Regions from separate parts of the Homo sapiens genome. Here region 1 is linked to region 2. The links are contacts of gene promoters, found by promoter capture Hi-C in blood cells and fetal thymus (Javierre and others, 2016). All regions are on one chromosome and are shown on one strand. Each heading gives the region's core, a stretch centred on a gene start or on the middle of the fragment in contact. The rest is flanking DNA. Distances are from core to core; before and after follow the strand shown. Region 1 has its middle 3.2 kb from the start of MRPS31. Region 2 holds the start of WBP4 (WW domain binding protein 4).

Region 1 (3,786 bases), core at 362-2,861, 290 kb before region 2:
CTAATAGGACACATGGGAACCACTAGCCTAAAATTCCATAAAGGCATTCCAAAGTTTACATCAACATTTTCCCTGTCCTCTCAAAAAATAATCAAGGTGGGGAGGTGAGTTTTTGTGATACTAAAACACAGCTTACATTGAGCAGATCTTCCTGAGATCCACTAACACTAACAGAACCTTTGTGACTGAATGCTCTACACAGTACACTTGGGGATGCTTACTTTGTCTGATTTGTAAAAAAACAAACAAAAATTAAAGCATAACTTTGTCAAAAAACAAAATTATGGCAAATTTAGCATAATTGGTTTTTATTTGTGATTCTAGAATAGTGTTCCAGTGAGTTGAGCAGAGGGGTTTGGCTTTACAAGCACAAAAGAGTTGAAGAAAATAGAAACAGGGAACAAAAATCAGATTGGTCATTTCAAAGTTACCTTCCTTATAGGGTTAAAACAGAGGGATTCCTTGTCATGCTGGCTCAGGTAAACTAGGGCCCCTCTGATTGGTGCTGTGAATCTCCTGCTTTTGGAAAACTGGCCCTGATTTCAAAGTTCAGTTTGATTACTTGGCACTTAGCACAAGTGACTATTCTGGTTTGCTCTGGTGTGCTGGGGGCTAGTACAGGAAGCTTGTCCAAAACTACGGCCTCCTATAAACTTTAGCAACTTCAATACAGAAAAGTGTATGAATTATAAATATGTTGATGAAAATGTATCTTTGTTATTGTTGAGATGGAGTCTTGCTCTGTCACCGAGGCTGGAGTGCAGTGGTGCTATCTCAGCTCACTGCAACCTCCACCTCCCAGGTTCAAGCAATCCTCCTGCCCTAGCCTCCCGAGTAGCTGGGAGTACAGGCGTGCACCACCACCCCCAGCTAATTTTGGCATTTTTAGCAGAGACAGATTTCACTATGTTGGCCAGGCTAGTCTCGAACTCTTGATTTCAGGTGATCTTCCCATCTTGGCCTCCCAAAGTGCTGGGATTACAAGCATTAGCCACCGTGCCTGACCAAAAATGTGTTTAAGGAATGATCACAGAGTTAATTCACCCATATAAACCTCCACCTGGATCAAGAAATAGAATATTAGCAGTACAGCATACTTTCCTTGATATCACTTGATACCCAGTGGAAAATCCATTCTTGAGTATAATAAGCAGTCCATGTGGATCACATTTAATAGTTACCTCATCTTTTTTCGATTTCTTATAATATCCTTCAAATGGGTTTTTTAAAACCCTAAAATCTCTTAACAAAGAAGATGAAAACTTCCATCTCAATTTCAGTTTCTCTGGGGGAAGACCTTGTCCCAGCTACCCTGTTCTTAATCTACTCTAAGGTAGTGCAGACACAGTAAATTACCTCCCTGCTCCGTAAGGGTAGATAGGCCGTGACTATGTGAAAGTGCCTGGCTGAGGGTCACAAGCCAGAATTGAAATTTAGTCTTCTCTACCATTTGGTTCCTTCCACTATCACTTTCTTACAATAGAGGCTTTCTTTGACCACCGTGGTTAATGTAGTCTCCTGCCCCATCCAGTCGCACTCTGGCACGGATTGCTGTTGTCCACCTATAGCCATTCTCTTCTTCTGGAATTTTAGCTGAACTCATGACACTGTCTCTACCAAAAAATAAAAAAATTAGCTGGGCATGGTGCCCCTGTGGTCTCAGCTACTTGGGAGGCTGAAGTGGGAGGATTGCTTGAGCCCAGAAGGTGGAGGCTACAGTGAGCAGTGATTGAGCCACTGCACTCCAGCCTAGATGACAGGGCAAAACCCTCTCTCTAAATAAATAAATAAATTTGACTTAAAAAAAAAGAGAATTAATAGGATAGTTCTACTTGGCCATAAATTAAATCATGAAGAGAATTTCAATAAATTCCCCCCAAACTTCAAAAGTCTGTCCTTTGAAAAACTAATATGACTTGTGTAATTTTTTTTCCAGAGCAATCATTTATGAGAGTGACAAAAAGAAAGCCGAAAGTAGAAAATTTTTTCCTCCTCTAACTTTCTATTATGGTATTTGATTCACCAGTCATTTTCTTCCCAGGGACCCCTGGAAATGCACTTTTTAGAAACAAGGCAAGAAATAGAAAATCAACTGAAATTGCTCCTGATATAGAGTGGTGACTTTGTCCTAGCTATCTCATAAAATTCTATACGAATTAACTCAACAAGCCTTACAAGAAAATGAAGAAACAAAATCACCCTATATTCCAGTTATCCATTGCTGCACAACAAACCATCCTAACGCTTAGTATCTTAAAACAACAATTTGTTATCTATCCTGGTTCTGTGGTGGACGGGGCAGCTCAGCTGGGTGGTCCCTACTTTGATCCCTCATGTGGTTGCCATCAGATAAGACTGAATGTCCGGGATGGTTTCTTCACCCACACATCTGATACCTCAGCTGGAATAGCTGGAAGAAACAGGGGCTGGCTGGGCCTCTCTCCACACAGTGCCCGGCCTAAAGCAGGCTAACTCTTACAAAGTTGCAAAATCACAGCGAAGATATTGAAGTAGCAGGTTAGTTAATGGTACAAGCAATTTCACTTCATCGCAATGAACTTCTTTCCCATAATATTTAATGTATCCCAGATTCATTTCTAAGCTTAATTACTATACTAATTCTTAGAAACACTTTAAAGCTAGTAAATAATACGTCTTGGAAAGATCTAAGTGAGTAAATAATACATCTAGAAAGATTCAGAACAATTTAAACTATTCTACCAATCTGCATAAACTAGCCACTAGTTCATGCTAGTGGGTCACAAAAGGGTAAAAACAATGAGCCCCTTCTCCCAAGTGGCAGGATGGCAGAACACGAATGTCATAGCACAAGTGAGGTTTACAGGCTCTGTGGCTACTTTGCTTGTGCAGTAAGATGTATCATATTCTGCTGTTTGTTTTATGCCATTTTCCATCATACTTAGTCTATGCACTTGATAGGCAATCAAATGTAATTGATTCTATTAATTGCTTTTCAGTCACTAGAATTGCCCATATATGTAACTTCATTTCCCAATGAATATGTCTATAAATCTGTATATTTTATGTCCAAAGTAATCCTTTTCCCTAAAATCAACTCTGAATTAACTTTCAATGCCTCTGTGTAAAAATGCATGTAAGACTTTTTCCAATAAAATCAGGAGGCAGCATAAACATGCCCAATATGGTAATGAGAATAATAATACCACTAACTGCCATCGTTGCATACTAAACCATTTACATTCTTATCTCATTTAATTTTCTCATTGACATCAGAATTATCCAACAAGATCAGTCCGATGTCACAGCAGATGTATGAAACCCTGTAGCAAGGAGTCCAGGAATGGTCAATATTTGAAAATCCAACTAGCCAGGTCAGCAATGGCCCCAGTCTTCTGAGGTTTGCTCTTTGTGAAATAAGCCTGCAGAATAAACCCAGTTGTCCAGCAGTTTCAGCTACCTACTTCAATTTACTTGTGGCTCCACTAGCAAAAGTATTAACGGATTATGAACATCTTTCCAAAGGCGGTGTACTAGCTGAAGTCACAAAAAGAAGGAGAAAATGAGGCTGGATGGGCTCACTGGGGACGTAACTCATCATGAGGCTTCCTGATTTGGGTGATGGATGATGTGTGTGGTACTACACTGGATGTGGTATTTCCCATCTTTTTTCCTAGGTGGATTAAGAGCTTTTTTGTCTCTGCATCTTCCAAGTTGAGACTTTTTTTCTTTCTTTCTGGAACACACATATATATACATATCTCCAGCTGGTCTATCTTAAAAACCAGATCGAACTACAGTATCAAA
Region 2 (3,732 bases), core at 761-3,260:
TGTGCAGTTAAAGCTACAAAATAGTCTGGGAACACACATACTAACAACCAAAACATCTGCTTTCAGTAATGGCACTGACCAGAAACCCATCTACAAGAGTCACTTTTTCCTTCTTCGTTTGTTCCCAGAGGCCCAATAAACATTATAGCCGACCCTATTTTCTAATTTCAGCTTGCATTTAAGATAACGCTTTTGTTTCATTTACAGCTCACATGCTGCTGACACAGCTGTCCCTTCTTTGTAATAAACACAGGGCTTCTATATTTAAAAATACAGTGAAACTTTGTTTTAACGTCCCCTCCCCAGTCTCCAGCCAATTTTCTCTTTCCCAAGCCCCACCTCCACCCCAGGATGTTTTGCCGTTGTTTTAATCAATTTTTTTCTTTAAATCAACCGCGCTCAAAATGTTAGACCCTTTGGAAAGTCGATATACTTATTTAAAGCCATCTCATCAGAGTGGTATTTTTCTCCTCCATAGCTCGTGGTGTGTATTTTTAAAGGGAAAGAAAAAAGATTCTCGTTCCCAAAGGCCTTTTTTCGAGGGTACTTTCCGTGACTGCGACCAGCGCCCCTTAAGTCAAGTTGGGAAGACCTCGCAGGCCGGCCTCGCGCTTGCTCAGGCGCCGCGGGTGGAGACGCGAGCGCACACGCGGCGGAAAGGGGCGCCGGGCGGCTGCGCGGCCGGGAAAGCGCGTCCCCCCGGGAGGGCGCGGAAGGCACACTGTGTTCCGTGGGGCCTCGTAAATACCCTGCGGCCAGAGAACCACTAGAGCTACTGGTCCGGGCGCGGGCTCTGGGGCGCCCAGGGCAGGGGGGTCAGCCCGTCCTGCATAGGAAGAGTCGCAAGAGCGGCTGAAGAGGGTGTGGGCCGGACGGGGGCGCTGGGAGGAGATAACGCAAGGCCGGAGTTAATCATCACCTCCCGGGCGTCTGGAAAACTACGGGCCGGAGGGGCGGGGGAGCAGCCCAGGGGAAAGTGAAACTCCCTCAGGGCCCACCAGCCCCGTGAGCCGGAGGCGGGAGGGAGAAGGATCGGAAGCGCATTCGCTTCTCCAGCAGGCACGGCGTGGCACTCGAGGCTCCAAAAGCCGCAGCCCAGCTCCTGGCGCCACTAACTACAGTAATGCTTATTTTCTACAAACTCACCCAGACGGGGACAAGAAAGGAGCCAGAACACAAGATTTAAAAAGTCAGCCCTCCAAACCGATAGTTGCAAAAAAAAAGAAAAATAAGGAAGCGTTCCCATACCGGGAGTCGAACCCGGGCCACCTGGGTGAAAACCAGGAATCCTAACCGCTAGACCATATGGGAAGTGCTATGAGAAACTGCCGTGACCCACCTGACAAGCATAAGTGCCTCTGCCTCCTTCGCCGCACCTCTCGCCACCGCCGCCTCTGCGCTACTGAAGCTGCTGCTGCCGCCGCCGCCGCCGCCGCCGCCGCCGCCGCTGCTGCTGCCCACACGCTCCCGAGCTAGGGAACAAGCCCCATCCGAGCGCGTGGGCGTCGTAGGGGAGAGGAGGGGCGGGGCCGCTCCGCTGCAACAGCAAAGTTTGAGGCGAAGCCTAGCGACTCGCAGCGCCGGTCCCGCAGTTTCACCTCTTTTTTTTTTAACTCCGCCAGAGGACCCCGACCCACAGGTCCCGGTTGCTCCGCTGGTCAAAGTGCGTGCGGAGTAGTTGGCAAAGTTGAGAGCGGAGACGTCTCTGGGAACAGCTGTTTGCGTTCCGGGCGGAGGCGGCGCGCTGAGCTCCTTGGCCTTGAGCCAGCGAGCCTAGAAGGAGGATGGAGGTTTTGGGCCCCAGGGGAGGACACAGAGACGGCGGGATGGCGCAGGGACTTGAGGCTTGAGATCCCGTCCTTCAGCTCAGGTCCCGTCGCGCTTTTACCCCTTCCCGGTGACCTCAACCCCTTTATACCGACCCCACCTCTTTGGAGCCGGGAGTACCGCCCCTGTAGGGGGAGGGGAGAGGAGGCGATTTCGAACGCGGATTGGATCGTCTGGGCACCCGTAGTTGGGAACAGCGGAACGCTGGTCCCGGGGACTGAGTAAGGTGTCTGGATCGGAGGGAGGTTCGGGTGGGCATCGGGCGGCTGGAAGAGCTCGACTCGTCCCGCTGGGAAAGCGCGAGTCTGAGTGGAACCCTGGACGACTTGCAGAGCGGCTGGCGCAGTCATGTGAGTTGGGTCTCAGGCCCTGAACAACGAGGTGTTGTTTCTCTGGGCCGCCCTTTCTCGCCCGGGTCTTCCCCTCCTCTCCTCCCGCCCTTCGGCCGGGGGCGTGACAGACGCGTTCTTAACTCGCTCGGGACCGGCCCCAGACCTGCAGGGCCGGTTCTCAGGGCGGGGTAGAAATGTTACCCCGCTGAACGCCCTGGGGTATGGGGCACGGGCTCTAGGGGGAGGCCGGCGGCCGGTTCAGGGGGCTGGTTGGACGGCCGCGGGTGAAGCGACGCAGTGCTCTCTCTACGACGCTGTCGGGGGTCGCATGCACCCCTTGGGTTTCCGAAGCCCCTGAACCCTAGGGTATTGTGAAACTAGGGCTGGGCTGCGGCCTCCCCCGCCCACTGGAAGCGGCCAGCCCTGGATAGCGTAATGGTTTTTTTTTTTTTTTTTTTTTTTTTTTTGTCGGCCGTCTACGAAGTCCCATGGCTTTTCCAGTTCTCTCTTGCCTTGAGGCTCAAGAACAGTTTGTTTTAACTGAGAGTCTGGGAGGAACTACAGTTTTCCCCAGAGTAGTCTTGTACGTTGTTCTCTTGGTGGGAATAACTTGATTTAAGGCAAACTTTATGAGTTTCTTCAGGTTTCCATTACAGCAACCTCCCCCAAAGCCAGAAAGGATAAATGTTCTTCTAAGATGTTCCTTAGTTTTTCATAACGATGACGATAACAAGTGAGGAATTTTTGAAAGCCATTTTATTGAAGGGAGTTTTGTAATGAATCAGATACAGACTTTTTCTACTCCGCTGGCAACAGAATTTCAATTGACTGTGCTCCAACCAGATAAATAATAAAACGACTATACATAACAAGACAAGATTCAGTAGCAGGGGCATATATTTCAAACTTTAAAAACTGTAAAGCATGCAGAATTTAACCTTTTTTAAGTTTTACATGAGCTTAGCCTTGTTGTCTCTCTTTTTCAGGGCGGACTACTGGAAGTCACAGCCAAAGAAATTCTGTGATTACTGCAAGTGCTGGATAGCAGACAATAGGCCTGTATGATAATTCCGCTGTTAGAGATTCTAATAATAATTGTGTTGAATGAAGTGCTCCTTTTTGATGTAAACTCAGTTTACAAAGCACTTTTATGTACATTGCTCTTGCATTTTCAAAACATCAGAAGATTTCTGTCTTCTCAGTCCCCTATGAAAGCTGTGAGCCTTCTTCCTTTTCATCAACCTGACTTTGATTATATATTAAATTATTTCTCTGTGGCCTTTTGGGAAATGGGCAATGAGTTGGTCATATCATTCATGTTATGAAGCACCTATATTATAATGGTGGTGTTCATAATACTGTCATACCCAAAGAATTGTGGAAAGCCCTTAAAAAATAAAAGCAACATGTTTAGTTTTTCTTGTATATTTTGTGGTCTAGAAATAATCAAGTGTATTTAATGCAGAGCTGTGTATCTTTAGATGCTTAAATTTGAAAGAACACCATTATTTCCTTTCTCATGAAACAAAGTAACAACTCTGTTAGGTATGTTGTTAGTCTGTCTCATAGTTGA

Evidence for each region. The method cuts DNA at HindIII sites, captures the fragments that hold promoters and counts their contacts. A CHiCAGO score of 5 or more calls a contact.
Region 1: a contact is called between a fragment that was not itself captured here and the fragment with the promoter of WBP4 in region 2, in 1 of 17 cell types (fetal thymus). The highest score is 5.1, in fetal thymus.

The regions. Positions count from the first base shown.
Region 1 is chr13:40,772,475-40,776,260 of GRCh38, forward strand. No RefSeq gene overlaps it. Among named protein-coding and RNA genes, the nearest start is that of MRPS31, 3.2 kb to the left of the region's middle. The HindIII fragment of the contact is 1,977 bases long and covers 624-2,600 here.
Region 2 is chr13:41,059,499-41,063,230 of GRCh38, forward strand. WBP4 (WW domain binding protein 4) reads left to right here and starts at 2,011. Exons shown (of 10, transcript NM_007187.5): 1 at 2,011-2,177; 2 at 3,146-3,218. The coding sequence starts at 2,176. TRE-TTC1-2 (tRNA-Glu (anticodon TTC) 1-2) reads right to left here and starts at 1,311; the gene lies at 1,240-1,311. It also overlaps a transcript of ELF1 not described here. RefSeq lists a silencer at 626-805. The HindIII fragment of the contact is 8,920 bases long and covers 1-3,732 here.